Linked DNA regions of Homo sapiens: all the other regions are linked to region 1. Evidence: promoter capture Hi-C in 16 types of primary human blood cells and fetal thymus (Javierre and others, 2016). All regions are on one chromosome and are shown on one strand. The core of a region is centred on a gene start or on the middle of the fragment in contact, and the rest is flanking DNA. Distances in the headings are between cores, read along the strand shown. Region 1 holds the start of GGT6 (gamma-glutamyltransferase 6). Region 2 overlaps ANKFY1 (ankyrin repeat and FYVE domain containing 1). Region 3 holds the start of C17orf107 (chromosome 17 open reading frame 107). Region 4 overlaps ANKFY1 (ankyrin repeat and FYVE domain containing 1). Region 5 overlaps MINK1 (misshapen like kinase 1).

Evidence for each region. Contacts are between HindIII fragments. The CHiCAGO score rates a contact against its expected background, and 5 or more counts as called.
Region 2: a fragment that was not itself captured here is called in contact with the fragment with the promoter of GGT6 in region 1 in 1 of 17 cell types (M2 macrophages); the score reaches 5.4 in M2 macrophages.
Region 3: the fragment with the promoter of C17orf107 here is called in contact with the fragment with the promoter of GGT6 in region 1 in 4 of 17 cell types (neutrophils, M0 macrophages, erythroblasts and 1 more); the score reaches 13.6 in neutrophils.
Region 4: a fragment that was not itself captured here is called in contact with the fragment with the promoter of GGT6 in region 1 in 1 of 17 cell types (M2 macrophages); the score reaches 5.1 in M2 macrophages.
Region 5: a fragment that was not itself captured here is called in contact with the fragment with the promoter of GGT6 in region 1 in 3 of 17 cell types (M2 macrophages, M1 macrophages and M0 macrophages); the score reaches 6.4 in M2 macrophages.

Annotation. Positions count from the first base shown.
Region 1 is chr17:4,557,967-4,561,922 of GRCh38, forward strand. It overlaps GGT6 (gamma-glutamyltransferase 6), which reads right to left and starts at 2,611. Exons shown (of 4, transcript NM_001288702.2): 1 at 2,416-2,611; 2 at 1,592-1,794; 3 at 1,377-1,490; 4 at 1-1,091. The coding sequence starts at 2,555. The coding sequence ends at 49. The HindIII fragment of the contact is 2,996 bases long and covers 2,498-3,956 here.
Region 2 is chr17:4,217,369-4,221,324 of GRCh38, forward strand. The region is part of intron 3 of ANKFY1 (ankyrin repeat and FYVE domain containing 1); the gene reads right to left. Among named protein-coding and RNA genes, the nearest start is that of ANKFY1, 45 kb to the right of the region's middle. The HindIII fragment of the contact is 3,847 bases long and covers 1-3,271 here.
Region 3 is chr17:4,898,286-4,900,785 of GRCh38, forward strand. C17orf107 (chromosome 17 open reading frame 107) reads left to right here and starts at 1,251. Exons shown (of 3, transcript NM_001145536.2): 1 at 1,251-1,543; 2 at 1,651-1,860; 3 at 1,952-2,500. The coding sequence starts at 1,478. The coding sequence ends at 2,248. It overlaps CHRNE (cholinergic receptor nicotinic epsilon subunit), which reads right to left. Exons shown (of 12, transcript NM_000080.4): 9 at 1,183-1,297; 10 at 913-1,099; 11 at 716-822; 12 at 1-606. The coding sequence ends at 451. RefSeq lists silencers at 848-997, 1,018-1,127 and an enhancer at 1,328-1,637. The HindIII fragment of the contact is 47,734 bases long and covers 1-2,500 here.
Region 4 is chr17:4,249,171-4,253,126 of GRCh38, forward strand. All of the region lies in intron 1 of ANKFY1 (ankyrin repeat and FYVE domain containing 1), which reads right to left. Among named protein-coding and RNA genes, the nearest start is that of ANKFY1, 13 kb to the right of the region's middle. The HindIII fragment of the contact is 3,051 bases long and covers 540-3,590 here.
Region 5 is chr17:4,841,491-4,845,446 of GRCh38, forward strand. The region is part of intron 1 of MINK1 (misshapen like kinase 1); the gene reads left to right. Among named protein-coding and RNA genes, the nearest start is that of MINK1, 10 kb to the left of the region's middle. The HindIII fragment of the contact is 1,108 bases long and covers 1,160-2,267 here.

The sequences.
Region 1 (3,956 bases), core at 1,361-3,860:
CCCATGCTTCAGATAACTCTGCCTTCTGCCAGACCCACCCCCATCCTGTTAGAACCCCTGGAAGGGGCAGCAGGCATGGGGGACACTGGAGACATGGGCGTGCTCTGTGTGGGCTGCCACCTGGAGCAGGGTCCCTTGGCCACAAGTGCTGGGATGCTCTGTTGGTTCTTGCTGACCCTGATGCTGGTGCTGGGCCTGGGTAGGGGGCCTTGCTGCCAGATGCCTGAGTAGGGTGTGAGTCATGGCCCTGGCCACATCAGGGGTCCCTGAAGCCACAAGCCCCAACACATCAGCCTCTGTGTCATCCAGGCTGCCACGGAGGATGAGGGGGCAGGCCCAGGCACTAGTGGTAGACTTGGCCACCAGGTTGCTGAGCAGAACCCCAGTGCTTGGGGACAGGTGTGCAGAGCCAAAGGAGCAGTTGAGCGAGGAGGTGAGAAGGAGCACAGAGCCGCTGCTGTCCACGGCGGCCAGGGCACTGCTCTCGGGGCTCACAGCAGTCTGCAGGAACGGTGGGCAGGGGTCAGGGATGGGCGCCCCGGAGCGCAGGGCTGCCTCCAACAGTGCCAGCAGTTCTGGGCCAGCTGAGGGACTGGGGGTGGTGAACAGGATGCCCTGGGGCACAGGTAGCTGCTCTGCTGGTTCCAAAGTGGGCCTGGGCACAGCCGAGGGCACCTCCACCCCCAGGTCTCCCGCCAGTAGACTCAGTAGAGCATCCCCAGCAAGGTCTGAGGTGGGAGCGAGGGCTGCGCTGCGAAGCACAGCTGCCAGTTGTGGGTTGGTGGCTCGGGCCCCAGCGCCCAGGGGTGTCCCATCAGCATGGCAAAGTAGTGGACAGAGGCCTTCTGTGCCCCGAGCCACCAGAGCCCTTGCCAGGGGTGTGTCCACCAGGAAGCCCTCCTGAGCCAGCGTGGTGGGGCCCACTAGCAGGCGTGGCCAGGGCAGGCGGCCGAAGCGTGCATGCAGCAGGTGCAGGGTGGGCAGAGCCGCGGGCAGCCCCAGGCCGGGGGCCAGGGTCTGTGCTGGGCCTGATGTCAGGGCCGTGGAATTGCCTGAGGAGCTATCGTGGAAGAGGCCCCAAAACATGGCACCTGCAGGAGACAGAGGGGTCCCTCAGCAGCCGCAGGTCAAGGGTCACTGACTTGTTTCAGTCAAGATCCCTTGACTGAGCCTGGGATCAGGAGTTACTGACCAGGCCTGAGGTCAAAGTTCCACAGACCCGGGCTCAAGGGTCATAGCCTGGGGTTGGACTGCTGCCCAAACCCTAAGTCCTGCTCACTTAGCAGTCTTGAGGTCAGTGCTACTGACTCCCTAAGTTCCAGGTCACTGATCAGGCTGTGGGTTGGGGTTGCAGTCTGGGGTCAGGGGTCACTGACCTAGCCCCGTGGCATGAGGATGCACCACTGCCAGGCACAATGCAGCTCCAACTCCAGCATCCACGACGTTGCCCCCGGCAACAAGCAGCTCTCGGCCTAGGTGGGAGCATGTGGCTGCAGCAAGGAAGGCACTGTCATGCAGCAAGGAGGGGGGCTAGGCTGGGCTGGTGACCCCTGACCCTCCCCTCCCCAAGCCGCCCCCAGCACTGACTGACCTGCAGGGCTGATGATGGCACCGTGGTGGTATACGCCAGGGCCGTGGGAGTGTCCGCCGGGTGGAGGGGCCACAGAGCCCAAGCTTCCTGTCGACCTGCCCTGATTCTGGAGCTGCCTCACAGCCAGGGAGCAGCCAACAGCCAGCAGCAGCAGGGCTGCCACTACACGGGCCCAGGTTCCGGGCAGCCCGCCAGCCTTGTTCCTGCAGAGGGGGGGTGTCCTGAGCCACGGCTGGGACAGAGGGATGCCCAAGGACCCCAAGAGACCCCAGGGAATATTTCCCAAAAGGTTTGATTTAGCAAGAGGAGCACAAGTCAGCCAAGGAGAAAGGGCTTCTTGGCAGCGGGTGCATCTTGGGCAGACATGGGGATGGGAAAGCATCTGGGGAAACTGAGCCTAGCTAGGGAGGGAGCCTCTGGAGGGGAGATTGGTGGGGCAGAGTCCACTCAGGTGGGAGGGAGGCCCAGTGGGGTGTGGCAGGCAGGAGAGAAGGGGCTGGGGAGCAGGCCCAGCCAGGCGTAGTCAGGCCCCAACCTGCCCAGCAGGTGCCTCCTGCACCAGGACTTGGGGGCTGGGGACCTTTGACAAAGCAGCAGATGGGACAGAGGCTGGCTTGGTACAAATGTCCCTCCAGATGCACAGACTTTTGATTGGGTCAGGCCAAGTCTCGGGCTACAGCCTGGGTTTTCCCCCAAATTGACCGTACAGTGCCTGGAGCTAAACCCAGCGGGGAGTCGCCTGGTCCCCCTGAGGGGCTCCAGAGAGAGGGACTTGCCAACCTCAAGCCTGGGGAGCCTGGTGCCCAGACCCCTCCCTTACTTACCTGGAAGAGTCCTGGTGCCTCCGGGGGTTTAGAACCAGCGCCTCTGATGTCTCCTCCTCCTCCACTTCCTCCTCCGACTCCAAGCTTGGCTCCCAGGGCAGCAGCTTCTGATAGACCACGGGCTCTTCTGCCCGCTCCATGGCCCCCCAGTGCTCGCCCCAGCCCTCCTGCCTGCCAGCCTTTCCGGCTGTGTCTCAGAGGCCCTGCCCAAGCCTGGCAGGTGGGAGGTGGCAGCGACCTTGGGGAAGGGTGGGGGTGGAATCCAGAACAGGTCTGGGCAGGGCACGGGGCCAAGGAGGCTGCATGTGAGCCTGCCCCATTAGGACACAAGGCCCGAGGAGCTCTCGCGACAGGGTTCCCGGGGTGACTGCCTGTAAGGGGCCACAGCTCAGTGAGGTCGAGAAGGAGTTCAGCCTTAATGCCACAACCTTGATACTCAGGGCACCTGCTGGGCTCCTCCCCTTGGGGGATGTAGCCCATGGATCCCACCCACCTGGGACTCTAGGGACTGTGGACTTGAATTAGAGCTACGGTTTCACGGTGGCTTGGGTCAGAGCTCCCACGTGCTTGAGTCTGCACGTGACTAGGTTCTGGCGTAGGGGTGTCTGGTCTCTGGCCGGGGTCAAGGCTCAGCCTGTGGCTACTCTGGGTCTGGGTTTCTTTGAGGAGCAACTTGGTTCGTAACTCCCTGTGCGTGTTTTGCGACTCTTGTCCAGAAGGTAGCGCCACAGCCTGGAAACCAACATTTCTAAATTCATTCTGGGATTCCCATCAAGGACTTGTTGCAAAACAGTGCTGTTTGTAACAGTCCCAAATTGGAAAGTGCCCAAACATCCATTATCGTTAGAATGAATGATGTAAGTCACAATGGACCACTCTGCAGCAAAGAGAGTGAGTGATCTACAATTATATGCAATAATATACACAGGTCTGACAAGCATAAGGACGAGGGAAAGCAGCCAGGCAGGAGACAGCGCACGCTATATGCTTTCATTTACACAAAGTACACAAACAGGCAACAACAAAAGAGCAACAACAGTCTGCCCTTAGAAGTCAGATAGTGACTGGAGGAGGTACCAGGGGGTTTCTGGAATGCTGGAGATGTCCTTTCTTTCCTTCCTTTCTTTCCTTTCCTTTTTCCTTTACCTTTCTTTTCTTTCTCTTCTTTCTTTCTTGACAGAGTTTTCATTCTTGTTGCCCAGGCTGGAGTGCAATGGTGCAATCTCAGCTCACTGCAACTTCCACCTCCTGGGTTCAAGCAATTCTTCTGCCTCAGCCTCCCGAGTAGCTGGGATTACAGGCACATGCCACCACGCCTGGCTAATTTTTTGTATTTTTAGTAGAGACAGGGTTTCACCATGTTGGCCAGCCTGGTCTTGAACTCTTGACCTCAGGTGATCCGCCCGCCTCAGCCTCCCAAAAGTACTAGGATTACGGGTGTGAGCCACCGCGCCCGGCCGAGATGTTGTTTCTTAATCTGAGTGTTGGTGACACGAGTGCCCTGGGTGTGAAAATGCATTGAGTTGGGCATTGATGACGTG
Region 2 (3,956 bases), core at 98-2,597, 340 kb before region 1:
AAACCCCATGTCTACTAAAAATACAAAAAAAATTAGCCGGGCCTGGTGGCGTGCACCTGTAATCCCAGCTACTCGGGCTGAGGCAGGAGAATCGCTTGAACCCGGGAGACGGAGGTTGCAGTGAGCAGAGATTGAGCCACTGCACTCCAGCCTGGGTGACAGAGGGAGACTCCGTCTCAAAAAAAAGGTGACTCAGCAGTCTGGGCAACATCTGACTAAACTTTCGCAGTGGGCAGTGAGTGAGGAAATAAACCTACTAAAGATATGTCGAATAAATTGGGGAAAATATTTGAAACATATGACAAAGAATTAACATTATTTTTTTTTTCTTTTTGAGACAGGGTCTCACTACGTCACCCAGGCTGGAATGCAGTGGCACAATCATGCCTCACTGAAGCCTCGAACTCCCTGGGCTCAAGTGGTCCTTACACCTCAGCCTCCCGAGTAGCTGGGACCGCAGGTGCATGCTAGCATACCAGGTTAATTTTTGTATTTTTTGCAGAGACGGTTTCACCATGTTGCCCAGGCTGGTCTCGAAATCCTGGGCTCAAAGAATCCAACTGCCTCGGCCTCCTAAAGCATTAGGATTACAGGCGTGAGCCGCTTCACCCAGCCTGAGTTAACATTCTTTATGATAAAAAGACCTTACAAATAAAAATAAAAAGACGGATACCCAATGGAAAAATGGGCAATGGATACAAATAGGTAATTCACAAAGATAAATAATGGCTAGTAAACCTTACTGATAACCAAATACAAACTGAAATCAGAGTACATTTTTTTATCTCTCAGACTAGCAAAGATTTTTTAAAGAACATAACCTTTCACACAGCAACTACATATGTAGACATTATCCAAAGAAAATAACTGGACAGATAAAGAAAAATGTACTAAGATGCTCAGCACAATATTATTAATGAAGAACTAGAACAAAAATCGTAAGAGTCCAACAATGGAGAACTAATTAAATAAATTACAATATACATACACACTGAACAAATGCAATGAAAACTAGATAGATATATATTCAACATAAGATATTTACTACATAGGCTTTTTGAAAAGTAGGCTAAAAATACTTGTATAAGATCTCATTGGCTGGGTACAGTGGCTCACGCCTGTAATCTCAATGCTTTGGGAGGCCAAGGTGGGCGGATGGCTTGAGCCCAGGAATTCAAGACCAGTGTGAGCAACATGGTGAAACCCTCTGTCTTTACAAAAATTCAAAAATTACACCAAAATCTCAGAAATCACCACTAAAGAACTTAGCCATGTAACCAAACACTGCCTGTTCCCCAAAAACTACAGAAGAAAAAAATTAAACAAAATAAAACCAAAAAATATAAAAATTAGCTGGGCACATGCCATTAGTGGCGGCATGTGTCTGTAGTCCCAGCTACTCAAGGGGCCAATGTGGGAAGAGAAATTGAGCCGGGAGGTTGAGGCAGTACTGAGCCGTGACTGCACCACTGCACTCCAGCATGGGTGGCAGAGCAAGACCCTGTCTCAAAAAGAAAAAGAAAAAAAAATAGGTCTTGCTTTTTGTTAAGATACACCTGTGTGTGTATGCATGCATACATATATATATAATACCTACACACACTACACACTACACACATAGAGAGGCAGACACACATTTTTCTGTGTCTGTCTCTCAAGAGATTGGAAGGATATATACTAAAATATCAACCCAGGTGGAATTTATAACTAATTTTTCTTTTAGCTTAATTTTACTTTTAGCTTTATTTTTATTTAAGGAACATGCATTATTTGTGCAATCTTTTTAAGTTAAAATAAAGACTGTACAGCAACTTGGGGAAATGCTTGGGATGAGAATCATAGTATAAAATATCTAAACTATTATTTCAACCAGAGTTAACTCTTGATTAGTCAGAATAAGAAGAGTGATGGTCAGAGGAATACTTAAAATCATGGTCAACGCAAGTAATTCTCACGGTGTTGTCCTGGGCCAGGAGATTCAGCCTCATCTGATAACTGATTGGAAATCTGATTCTCTGTCCTACCCCAGACCTGCTGAATGAGAAACCAGAGATGGGGCCCAGCACATGTCCTAACAAGTCCTCTATGTGATTCTGATGCTCACTAAGGTTTCAGAAACCGTACTTGATTCTTGATTACCTAGGAAAGGTGCAACAAGGACCAGGAACACCTTATTAACTTCATAATTAGGAATTGGCTCATTAGCTCTGATTACTCTCCTTTCCAACTAGAGTGGGAAGGAGCAGCTTGAAGGGGGCAATGTCAAGTGAGTGGACTTGAAGACCCCGACTTACCTGCAACCAGGTTAATTCACCATCTCCTAAAACAACCAGATATTAAAAGTAAAAAAAAAAGAAAAAGAAAAAGAAAAAGTGAAATACACTAAAATGATAATATTGTAGTTACTATGTTAAAGTTTTTCTTTTTTCTCTCACTGAATAATATAGTAATAGCACCTTTTCTTTTTTTTGAGACAGAGTTTTGCTCTTGTCACCCAGGCTGGAGTGCAGTGGCGCGATCTGAGCTCACTGCAACCTCTGCCTCCCGGGTTCAAGAGATTCTCCTGCCTCAGACTCCCAACGTAGCTGGGATTACATGTGCCTGCTGCCATGCCCAGCTAATTTTTTTGTATTTTTAGTTGAGATGGGGTTTCACCATGTTAGCCAGACTGGTCTTGAACTCCTAACCTCAGGTGATCCACCTGCTTCGGCCTCCCAAAGTGCTGGGATTACAGGCGTGAGCCACCCTGCCCGGCCAGTAGTAGCACTTTTAAAATGTTTTAAAAGAGAAAACATTTTAACACCAGACAGAAAACTAATTAGATTTATTTAAACAACCTAGGTGCTTCAGCTAAGCTGTCTAAGATCACCATAGTAGATCTTGGAAGTAGGCCAAATTTCTAAGCAGGCTTTGTAAATTGGGTTCAATACCTCAGTAGTCATCGTAATGAACAACAAAAAAAATGTAGGCCATGTGATTTGTCCACAGCAACCAAAAATCCCAAAACACATCCTACTAGACTCACATGGCCTGATCTTGAAGACAGCTCGTTCCTATCTGCTGAGAGAATCCCCAGCACCAACACCCTCAAACACCTTCCCTACAGTAGCAGTTTCTTAAATACTATTTGCAAACTTGCCCGGTTAATCTTGACCTGTACAAGTAATAAACAAAAACCTAGATTATCAAAAAACTTTTTTAAACTACTTTCAGTAGGGATTTCCTGGGAGGGCTTGATATTTCAAACAAAATGAGGTTCAAGTGATTTACAAGCTTTCCCACTCCTGCCGTGACTCTTCCCCTCATCTACAAAATACACTGAGAATAAATTCACTTTGTGACTCAGACGAAGCAGCCAGTGGTATAAGGGTAGGCAGAGAACAAGGATCAGGAAGGACAGTGTGTGCTGCAACTGGGTACTTGTGGGTAAATCGTCCACACTGTCTGCTTCCAATCTACTTAAGCAAGTGGTTGTAAAAGTCAGATGACTGCATAAAGCACGAGTTCTCTCTAAAAGGAGTAGACTCAGAAGAGAAAGCAGTTGGCCTCCGAGTCCTGCGTGAGGGAGGTAATCATCTCTCAGAAGGCCCTGCATGCAAGCCAGAAAAATCTCTGACTTCAAGGATGAAAAGTAAAATAACACTGAAACTTCTGACTTCGTTTCACTGCAGGCCAGGATGCATGTAAATACACTTTGGAGACTTTAGGATTTTCTATGTGGCCTAGTTTTTTGTTTTGGTTTGAATTTTAAATAAATGTTTTCCAAGACATCTGAAATGGATGGGAATAAACTGATCTGTATGCAATTAACCATTAAATGAAACATACTGAGTAAACTGACTTTGTTTTTTACTTTATTTATTTAGGGACAGAGCCACTGTTGCCCAGGCTGGAGTACAATGGTGCAATCACAGCTTACTACAGCCTCGACCTCCCAGGCTCAATCAATTCTCCCA
Region 3 (2,500 bases), core at 1-2,500, 340 kb after region 1:
TGTTTGGTTCCCACCCGCTCCAGCAGAGCCAGACCAGGGAAGAAGAGGGTTTCCTGGCTACAGCCTCCCTGTGTGCAAGTCCTGCAAAGGGGTCTCCTGTTTGGCTATGAAATGAATATAGATAGATAGCTCACAAGCTGGCAGCCACCAGAGTCCCGTGGGGCTGAGCCTTAGAAAGGCTGGGAGGTCAGCAAGGCTGAATGAAGGGCAGTCCTTGCTTTCTGGAAGACTGGCACCTGAGAGCCTATGTGAACCCTTTCCTCCTGCTGACCCCTGGACTGCGGCCAGGCCTACACACGCCAGGGAACGGGCACACACCATTCTTGTGAAGTTCACAAACTGCAGATTGATCAGCAGGGGGAAGGGATCATAATGCCGTGGTGGCGGCAGCCTACTTTTTCAAAATCAATTTCCTACTGGAGATGGGTGGGAAATTGAAGTCGGTGCGAGCTAAGGCTGGATACACGGCGCGTAGGGGAGATCAGGCACTCGGTTGAAGTAGGCCCCGAGGAAGATGAGGCTGGAGCCCACGCTGAAGAGCACCAGAGCGGCCCAGAAGCAGATGTTGTCAAGGGCATTCCCCATGCGCACCCAGTCGGACACTTCCTGGGGAAGGGTCGGCACAGTCAGTAAAGAGGCAGCTGCAGGAGCCAGCGGCATGGGAGACAGTGGTGGGCCTCTGCCTCGCTCCACCCGCCTCTGGCTCCTGTCCCACCTCGCCGGTGGCCTCCTGATCTCTCGTGCTCTCGGCCACGAAGTTCACGGCATCCACACAGCAGCGGACCTCGGGGGCGGCGGCGCCCAGGCTCTGGCAGAAGGCAGCTGGCGGGGAAAACACCGGGGTGGGCCTTAGGAGCCTCCCCCCTGGCAGGCACCCCGCGCGGCCCCCCGGGCCAGGGCCACTGTGCTCACCCGTCCAGGTCCCCTGCCGGTGCCTCTGCCCCTCAAACACGAGCTCGCTCCGTGGCTTTTTCAGTATCAGCTCCTCCGCGCGGAGCAATAAGCCCACCGACGACGCCCGCCTTGGGGGCGAGGCGGCCCGGGGGGCCTCGGGCGGCGGCGGGGAGCCCAGGAGGCGCGGCAGCAGCTCCAGGAGAACCTGGGGCAGGGGCGGGGCTTAGGGGACGAGGTTAGTACGAAGCCCCACCCCGACCCGGGCTGCACCGCCCCCTCCGCGCTTACGTGGCGCAGCCGCGGGGACATGGCGTGGGTGGTGGGCGTCCGCTGGGACACGTTGAGCACGATGACGCAATTCATGACAATGAGCGTGGCGACCACCATGACGAAAATAAGGAACCTGAGGAGCCCGGAAGGCATGACATCACCGTTCCTCCTCCCAGCTACCGAAGGCGCCGCGCGCTGACCTCACAAACACGGCTTCTCCTGGTACGGGCTGGTTACGCCCTCCAGCTGCGCCCCCTACACGACGACAGACGCGTCCCCCAGCCCTTCTCCTGTCCTACCACTTGTGGCGGCCATGAAGGGGACCCCCAGCTCCCTGGACACCCTGATGTGGATCTACCACTTCCACAGCTCCACCGAGGTGAGGCTACGCCCGCCAAGGGCTGCACCTCGAGACCTTCTGGGTAGGTCTCCTGTTCGCCCCTGTGACCCCTGCCCTGCTACTCTACTGCTCTGCTCCTTCTCCAGGTGGCCCTCCAGCCCCCGCTTCTGTCTTCCCTGGAACTCTCCGTGGCCGCAGCCCATGAATATCTGGAGCAGAGGTTCAGAGAGCTGAAGTCCCTGGAGCCACCCGAACCGAAGATGCAGGGGATGCTGCCTGCCCCGAAGCCCACCCTGGGGCTGGTGTTGAGAGAAGCCACAGCCAGCCTCGTGAGCTTCGGCACCACCTTGTTAGAGGTGGGGTACTGGGGGGCTTAGGATACGCGGCGATCGGGTAGCGGGAACAAGGACCTCTGCCTCCCCGCTAACCCCTGTGCCCCCAATGCAGATCTCAGCCCTGTGGCTGCAGCAGGAGGCGCGGCGACTAGACGGCAGCGCGGGCCCAGCCCCAGACGGCAGGGATCCGGGTGCAGCGCTGAGCCGGGTAGCCCAAGCCGCAGGGCAGGGGGTTCGGCAAGCTGGGGCTGCGGTGGGCGCCAGCGCCCGGCTCCTAGTCCAGGGAGCATGGCTATGCCTGTGTGGACGGGGTCTGCAGGGGTCTGCCTCATTCCTGCGACAGTCGCAACAGCAGCTAGGCCTCGGAATCCCCGGAGAACCGGTGAGCTCAGGACACGGGGTGAGTTAGGGGCCAGAGGCGGCGGGGCTAGGGAGGCACTGAGCCGGACTGTCCCCCAAGAGAGCTACTCGGGAGACCTCCAGGTGACGTCCAGCAGCAGTGAGGAGGACGGCGGACCAGGGACTCCATCCCCGTACCAGCCCCACCCAGCGTCCGAATAAAGCCCAGGGCGGGGCGAGACAGCCAGAGCTTTTCCCGGGGTCTCTGGGTTTTGGCCACGCCCCCACCCTTCACACTGGCCACACCCCCGCGGGGGCTCCG
Region 4 (3,956 bases), core at 815-3,314, 310 kb before region 1:
GCATACTTTCCGTACAGGGCCACATAGCAAATATTTTAGGCTTTGGGAGCCATACAGTCTCTGGGGCACTACTCAACTCTGCCAGTTGGAACACAAAAGTACAAATTAATGAATGTGGCTGTTTCCCTAAAAATACTTTATTTATGAACACTGAAAATGGAATTTCATATAATTTTCACATCATGATACATTGTTTTGATTTTTCTTCAACCAGGTTAAAATATTTAAAATATAGTTAATATTTATAAGTTATTTTTATATGTTACATCTATAACATATAAATAAATTCTTAGCTTAAGGACTGCATAAAAACAAGTCGACAGGTCTCAGGTCAGATTTGGCTGAGAGGCCATACAAGCCCTGTCCCCCTGCTGGTGATTTTAAAGAATTAGAACGTTAAAATGACAGCCAGAGCCAAATGAAAAGGGAAGAAAGCAGTTTATCTATCTGGAACACCTAGAATTCTGTAACCTCTCACTTCTTACCAAACTCTAATCCACAACAGCAGCCACTGCATCTTCAAGATATGCCTGTCTCCAAGCTTACCTCCTCACCCTCAGAAACAGGCTCACAGTAATGCCTCCCACCCCTAGACAAACATCTCTTCTCCACAGTTATGCTCTTGACTGCGCAGTCTATCATACACTTTGCCTTCTCCACCCATTTCTTAAGAGTCCTCTTTGGTCACTACTTCCTGCCTTACCTCCCTAACCTTCTGAAACTTGGCTTCAACCCACATCACTCTACTAAATAGTCACAATGATCAAATCACCCACTTTGATGACCTTTTCCTTATTCTTCAAGCTCCTCAACCTCTCTGTAGCCTCCGACTCTCAACCACCCCATTCTTAAAACTCTTGTTTTGGCTTCCTAACTCTGTACTCTAGCTTTCTTCCTAACCTTGTTACAGACCCTTCACCTCCTATTCTGACTACCCACTTTCTAAAACGGCACAGTGCTGCAAGGTGCAGACCTACATCTGAACTTTTTCTAAATTTTCTTCCCTGAACATGGTCTCATGCATACCCATACTTTACTGTCACTGCTATAAAAATGGACCCAAATCTCTCTTTCCTTCAACAGCTCCTGCTGAAAGAATGACTGACTGCTACTATAAACTCGACAAGTCCAAAATCAAACTTCATATCTTCCTCAAATCAAAGTCTTCTTCCTACTTCATTTCATGTTATCAAAGCTCTAGGTTACCAATGTACGGGCTATGATAATGCATTTTTAATAGTATACCAAACATACAAAATATTTAGAGATAAACTTAACAAAATGTGCAATGCATGCACACTGAAACTATAAAAACACTGCTGACAGAAATGAAAGGCAACCTAAATAAACAGAGAGTTATATACTACGCTCATGGATTGGAAGGCTCAATAGCTCAATATTGTTAAGATGTCAGGTCTCTCCAAATTGGTCTATAGATCCAATACCTTCCCAATAAAAATCCCAGCAAACTGTGTTTGTAGAATTTGAAAGAATGATTCTAATTTTTTTTTCTTAGAAACAGGGTCTCCCTCTGTCACCCAGGCTGGGGTGCAGTGTCCTGATCATAACTCACTGCAGCCTCGAACTCCTAGGCTCAAACAGCTAGAACTACAGGTGAGCACCACCACATCTGGCCAATTTTTTTGTAGAGACAGGGTCTCAGTATGGCGCCCAAGCTGGTCTTGAACTCCTGGCCTCAAGGGATCCTCCCACTTTGGTCTTTTAAACTGCTGGGATTACATGCATGCATAACCACAGACAGCTGATTCTAAAATTTGGGTGGAAATGCAAAGTTCCTAGAATAGCCAAAAAAATTCTGGGCAGGGGAAAGAAAAAGGTTTAGCATTTACCTGACTCAAGGCTGTGTATAAAGCTACAGTAAATAGGACAGCATCAAACTGGCATCAAGATAGATATCCAGAGCAATGGAAAATAACAGAATCCAGGAATAGACTTTGACTTATACAAATGATCTGACAATGGTGTGAAGGCATTTCAATGAGGAAAGAACAATGGGACCAGAACAATTGGAGATCCATATGAAAACGCAAATCCCTATTCCTAGACACCACTACATATAAAAACTAACTCAAAATCACATATCTAAACGTAAGGGTTAAAACTGTAGCCCTTCTAGAGTCAGATGAAGTCCCAGCTACTCAGGAGGCTGGGGAGGAAGGATCACTTGAGCTCAGGAGTTTGAGGCTATAAAGCACTATGATCACATCTGTGAATAGCCACTGCACTCCAGCCTGGGAAACCCCATCTTCCTGTCTCTTTAAAAACAAAAACAAAAAGAAAACAATTTTTAAAAATGAGCTTCAAATCATTGACAGGTAAAATTTTTAAAAATTAAATAAAAATTAAAAAAAAAAAAAACAAAAACTACAGAACTTCCAGACTAAAACATAGCAAAAATCTTAGTGACCTCAGATTAAACAAAGATAAACTGTTAAAAAAAAATTACAGAAGAAACATGGCTAAATTTGACTTTACCAAATTTTAAAAACTGTTCTTGAAAAGTCATAAAAAAATAAAAAGGCAAGCCACAGACTGGGAGAAAATATGTGCAAAACATCCAACAAAAAACGCCTCATTCCCAGCCTGTAATCCCAGCACTTTGGGAGGCCAAGGTGGATGGATCACTTGAGGTCAGGAGTTTGAGACCAGCCTGGCCAACATGGCAAAACCCCGTCTCTACAAAAACACAAAAATTAGCTGGGTGCAGTGGCGTGCGCCTGTAGTCCCAGCTACTAGGGAGGATGAGGCAGGGGAATCACTTGAATCCGGGAGACAGAGGTTGCAGTGAGCTGAGATCATACCACTGCACTCAACCCTGGGCAACAGAACGAGACTCCGTCTTAAAAAAAAAAAAAAAAAAAGACTTGTATACAGATTATATTAAGAACTCTTACAGCTCAATAAGACAACCCGATAAAAAAGAGCAAAAAAACTGGAGAGTTCACCAAACAAGATAAATGTACAGTAAATAAGCACATGAAAAGATGTGCATCATTAGTAATTAAGATGCAAATTGAAATCACAATGAAATACCACTACACACCTACTAGTATGGCTAAAATTAAAAAGTTATGGCAAAGATCTGGAGAACTAGGCCAAGCGCAGTGGTTCACACCTATAATCCCAAAAGTTTGGAAGGCTGAGGCGGGAGAACAGCTTGAAGCTAGGAGTTTGAGAACAGCTGGGCAACAGAGTGAGACCCCCGTCTCCACAAAAAAATTTTAAAAATTAGCCAAGTGTGGTGGTGTGCACCTGCAGTCCTAGCCACTTGAGAGGCTGAGATGGAAGGACTGCTTGAGCCCAGGAGTTCGAGGCTGCAGTGAGCTATGATCATACCACTGCACCCCAGCCTGGGTAACAAAAAACAAACAAACAAAAAAAAAATTGGAGAACTAGAAGCTAGAAGCCTGATACATTGCTAATGGAAATGCAAAATGGCATAACCATTCTGGAAAACAGTTTGATGGTTTCTTATAAAGCTAAACATATACTTGCCTTATGGCCAACAATTCCACTCCCAGTTATTTCCTCAAAATAAACACAAAGAATTCTATTTAAATGTTCAATGAAGCTTTATTCATAACAACTGGAAACAACCGGAATGTCCAGCTGGTAAACAGACACAACTGTCACACATCCATATAATGGAAGAGCACTCAGCAATAAAACAGAAGGGACTGATACCAGACACATGAGGTACAGATGTATCTCAAAAGCAATATGCTACGTGAAAGGAGCCAGGCAAAAAAGACTACATACTGTATGACCCCATATGAAAGTGTAGTTTCATAGTAGGCAAACCAGGATCACTTGAGGTCAGGAGTTCGAGACCAGCCTGGCCAACATGGTGAAACCCTGTCTGTACTAAAAATACAAAAATTAGCCGGACCAGGGTGGCACACACTTGTAATCCCAGCTACTTGGGAGGCTGAGGC
Region 5 (3,956 bases), core at 464-2,963, 280 kb after region 1:
CACCTCAACTTATGTTTTTTTCCCACAAAGCCCCCCCTCCGATTTTGCCAGCCTTTACTGATCACATCATCCACTTTCTCACAGACCTTACAATTTAGCATTGGCTTATATATTGCCTTATATTGAATAATGTTTTATGGTCTTGTTTTTCCTACCACTTCCTTATGTGTAGAGACTGTGATCCATATTTCCTCTTGATCCCTGTAAAGATGCTGAGCACACAGTAGGGGTTCAGAAATTACTTGGTAAGAGACATGGATCTAAGTATGTCTGTGACTGGACCTTTCCTACTAGATTCAATCCACAATTAGTACAGGGTGCCCAGTATATGCTGGGCACGGTGGGATACAAAGCAGTACAGGTGCTGACTCTGGTTCTCAGCCAGGGCACCGCTGGCCTCCAGGGGGTGTTCGGAAATGCTGAGGAGGGAGGATTAACTGTCTTGGGAGCACCGGGCACGGTGGCTCACGCCTGTAATCCCAGCACTTTGGGAGGCCGAGGCGGGCGGATCACGAGGTCAGGAGATCGAGACCATCCTGGCTAACACGGTGAAACCCCGTCTCTACTAAAAATACAAAAAAAAATTAGCCGGGCGCGGTGGTGGGCGCCTGTAGTCCCAGCTACTTGGGAGGCTGAGGCAGGAGAATGGCATGAACCCGGGAGGCGGAGCTTGTAGTGAGCCTAGACCACGCCACTGCACTCCAGCCTGGGCGACAGAGCGAGACTCTGTCCAAAAAAAAAAAAAAACTGCCTTGGGAGCACTAACGGCATTTAGCACATGGGGATTGGGGATGTTAACCATCTGGCAGAGTCTGGGACAGTGCATCGAAGAACTGTTTTTCCACCCGTATTGCCACTGGTACCTCTCATGAACTTGTTATGGACATGGGAGAGACCCGGGGAGGGACTGGACAGGTTTCTTCCATGAAGTAGGAAGTAGTTCCTAAGTCCCCTGTGTACTTCTTTCCAGGTAGAGAGAGGAATGTGGGCTCTAAATTACCCTTGTGCATGGCACATATCTAGCAGCTTTTGTCTGCTAGCATACCTCTGGAGGTAAAATAGGTAGGCTCCCAGCCAGACTGTAAGGAAGATTTTCATGTTCTCTTTTCACCACCCACCCACTCTTTCTTTCAAGGCACATTTTTAAGAAAGTGGCTGAAGCTTGCAATACTTAGTCTTTAGTTCTAAGTGACTCAGGAAAGAGTCTTCAAGAAAACAGTTGGACAGAGTGCCCCAAAGCCTAAGCAGCGTGAGGCAAAGATAGGCAGGTGCATGTGGCGTCTTAGAGAGGGGCCAGCACATCGTCTCTTCTCTGGGGTCTTTTCATCCTACACTTGTCTTTTTGAAGACAGAGGTGTGGTGAATGAATGTCATTACTTACATCTGGGGGAGTGACCAGAGACAGTAGAAGACACCTTGCCCTAGTGTATCCTTTCAGGGTGGACCAGTGGCTGGGAAGCAGCACAGCTGAGCGGGATGAGCTGGAGCTGTGCAGAGCTGCCTTCCACAGCTCGCTGTTTCCCAGTCCCAGTCAAGAGAGCAGAACTTGGTAGGCTCCTGGCCTTGGGTAGCTAAGGTTTGGAGGAGGTGGAGAGAGTCCGCCTAACCTTAACAAGGTCATTCCTCACAGTGGAAACTACCTGAGCCCCACGTGTCGAAGCAGGGTAGGGGGAACAGGCAGGATGTGGATCAGAAGTTGGTTTGGGCTGGGCGCAGTGGCTCATGCCTGTAATCCCAGCACTTTGGGAGGCTGAGGCAGGCAGATTACTTGAGGTCAGGAGTTCGAGACCAGCCTGGCCAACATAGTGAAACCCTGTCTCTACTAAAAATACAAAAAATTAGCCAGGCATGGTGGGAGGCACCTGTAATCCCAGCTACTGGGGAGGGTGAGGCAGGAGAATCGCTTGAACTCAGGAGGCGGAGGTTGCAGTGAGCCTAGATTGCGTCACTGCACTCCAGCCTGGGCGACAGAACGAGACTCCGTCACAAAAAAAAAAGAAAGAAAAAGAAAAAGAAAAAAAAGGAAGTTGGTTGGTTCTAGTAAGTCCTTTTTCTGTCTGTCTTCTGTTTGGAACAAAGATTGCTGTGATAAAGTCATTTATATTATGATGCAGATTCATTTCAGAAGGGGGTGTTTGGGGTTGGAATAAGAACCGTAATGAACACTTACTGTGCAGTAGGTTCTTTCCTTCTGTAATCTCATTGTCCCTCACAAGAACCCTTTGAGGTGGACAATATTATCCTCATTTGCAAGATGAAGAAACCAAAGCTTACAGAAATTAACTTGGAAGTTAAGTAACTTGCCTGAGGTTGGACAGCCAGTAAGCAGCAGAGCCCACATTCAGACTCAAGTCTGACTCCAAAACCTGGGCTGCCATGCTGTTGGAGGGAGACCTGCTCCCACGTGGCGGTGGGTATTTGGGGGTGGGCACTGAGGGGAGGACAGGAGGGCAGTGTGTAGCTGGCACTCTAGACTACATGCAACTGGTATTGTTTTCTGCCTGTTTTTTGGTTTCTTTTTGCTTTTTTTGAGATGAACTCTTGCTCTGTTGCCCAGGCTGAAGTACAGTGGTGCGATCTAGGCTCACTGCAACCTCCACCTCCCAGGTTCAAGATCCTCCTGTCTCAGCCTCCCGAGTAGCTGGGATTACAGGTGCGCACCACCACACCTGGCTAATTTTTGTATTTTTAGTAGAGACAGGGTTTCACCATGTTGGTCAGGCTGGTCTCGAACTCCTGACCTCAGGTGATCCACCCACCTCGGCCTCCCAAAGTGCTGGGATTACAAATGTGAGCCACCGTGCCCGGCCTGCCTGTTTTAATTGTAAATGTGTGATATTTCTGTGACTTATGGTAAACAGGCTTTGTGGGCTTACTGAGGACTAAAACATTATCCATAACGTTTCTTGGTAAAGTTTTTGGAGACTTTTGGAATATGGCCTGTTTCATGGGCTGGAGACAGTCTGTATGAGAGATAGTTACTGCCCTCCAGGAGCACTTGGCCTCTAGATCTGTGTCTTAATAGAGGACACCTTTTATTCGTATACCTGGGTCTTTTTGAGGTGGGGAGAGTGAGTGACCTCAGCCTGAGCTGAACAGGTGGTGGGTTGGCACTGGGGAGCACATGTTGGGAATACAGAGCTCCACGGGGCTCGTACCCAGAACTAATAGAGATTTCTAAATGTAGGGCCGCTGGGTAGATCACTGTGATGATGAAGAGGACATGCAGAAGACTTCAGAATATTTGGTCTGCAGGAAAGATAGTCGAATAATTCAAAAGAAAGCCTCTTCAGAGGGAGGAGAGGAAGGCTGTCTCATTTCCCCCCACCCTTTAAAAATGTGTTGTTGTTGTTTTTTAATGTGATTAAGTATATGTAAGACTTACCATTATAACCATTTTTCAGCGTACACTTCTGTGGCATTAAGTGCATTCACATTGTTGTGCAACTGTAACCACTATCCATCTCCAGAACTTCTTCATCCTCCCCAAATGAAGCTCTGTACCCATTAAACACTGACTCTCTGAACCCTCCACCTTCCAGCCCCTGGCACCCACCATTCTGCATCTCATTGTCTTTTGTGTGTGCAGAGTTGAGCAGAGGGTCTGACCGAGCAGATGTTTAATATTTGTTGAGTCCGCCTAGGTGCATGTCTCAGAAGTCCATGTATCATCAGCCAACCCAGAACACAACCCCCCTCCCAGCTCTAATGCAAGATGACAGGCTTCTGAAAGGGATTTTAAATGAAATGGCTGTCTGGAATCACAAGAGGATTGGGCAGCAGCAAGAGAAGTTAAGGGTTTCTGTTCCGTATTCAGTTCCTTTTGCCACCCCCCAGCCATGACTTGCGTTCTGGTTCTGCTATGCTCATGTTCGTCATCTTGCTTGTTTTCAGCCTCTTACTTCATCTCATCCTGGGGGTCTGATGGGTAGGTGCTAGAGGAAGTTGGAAATAAG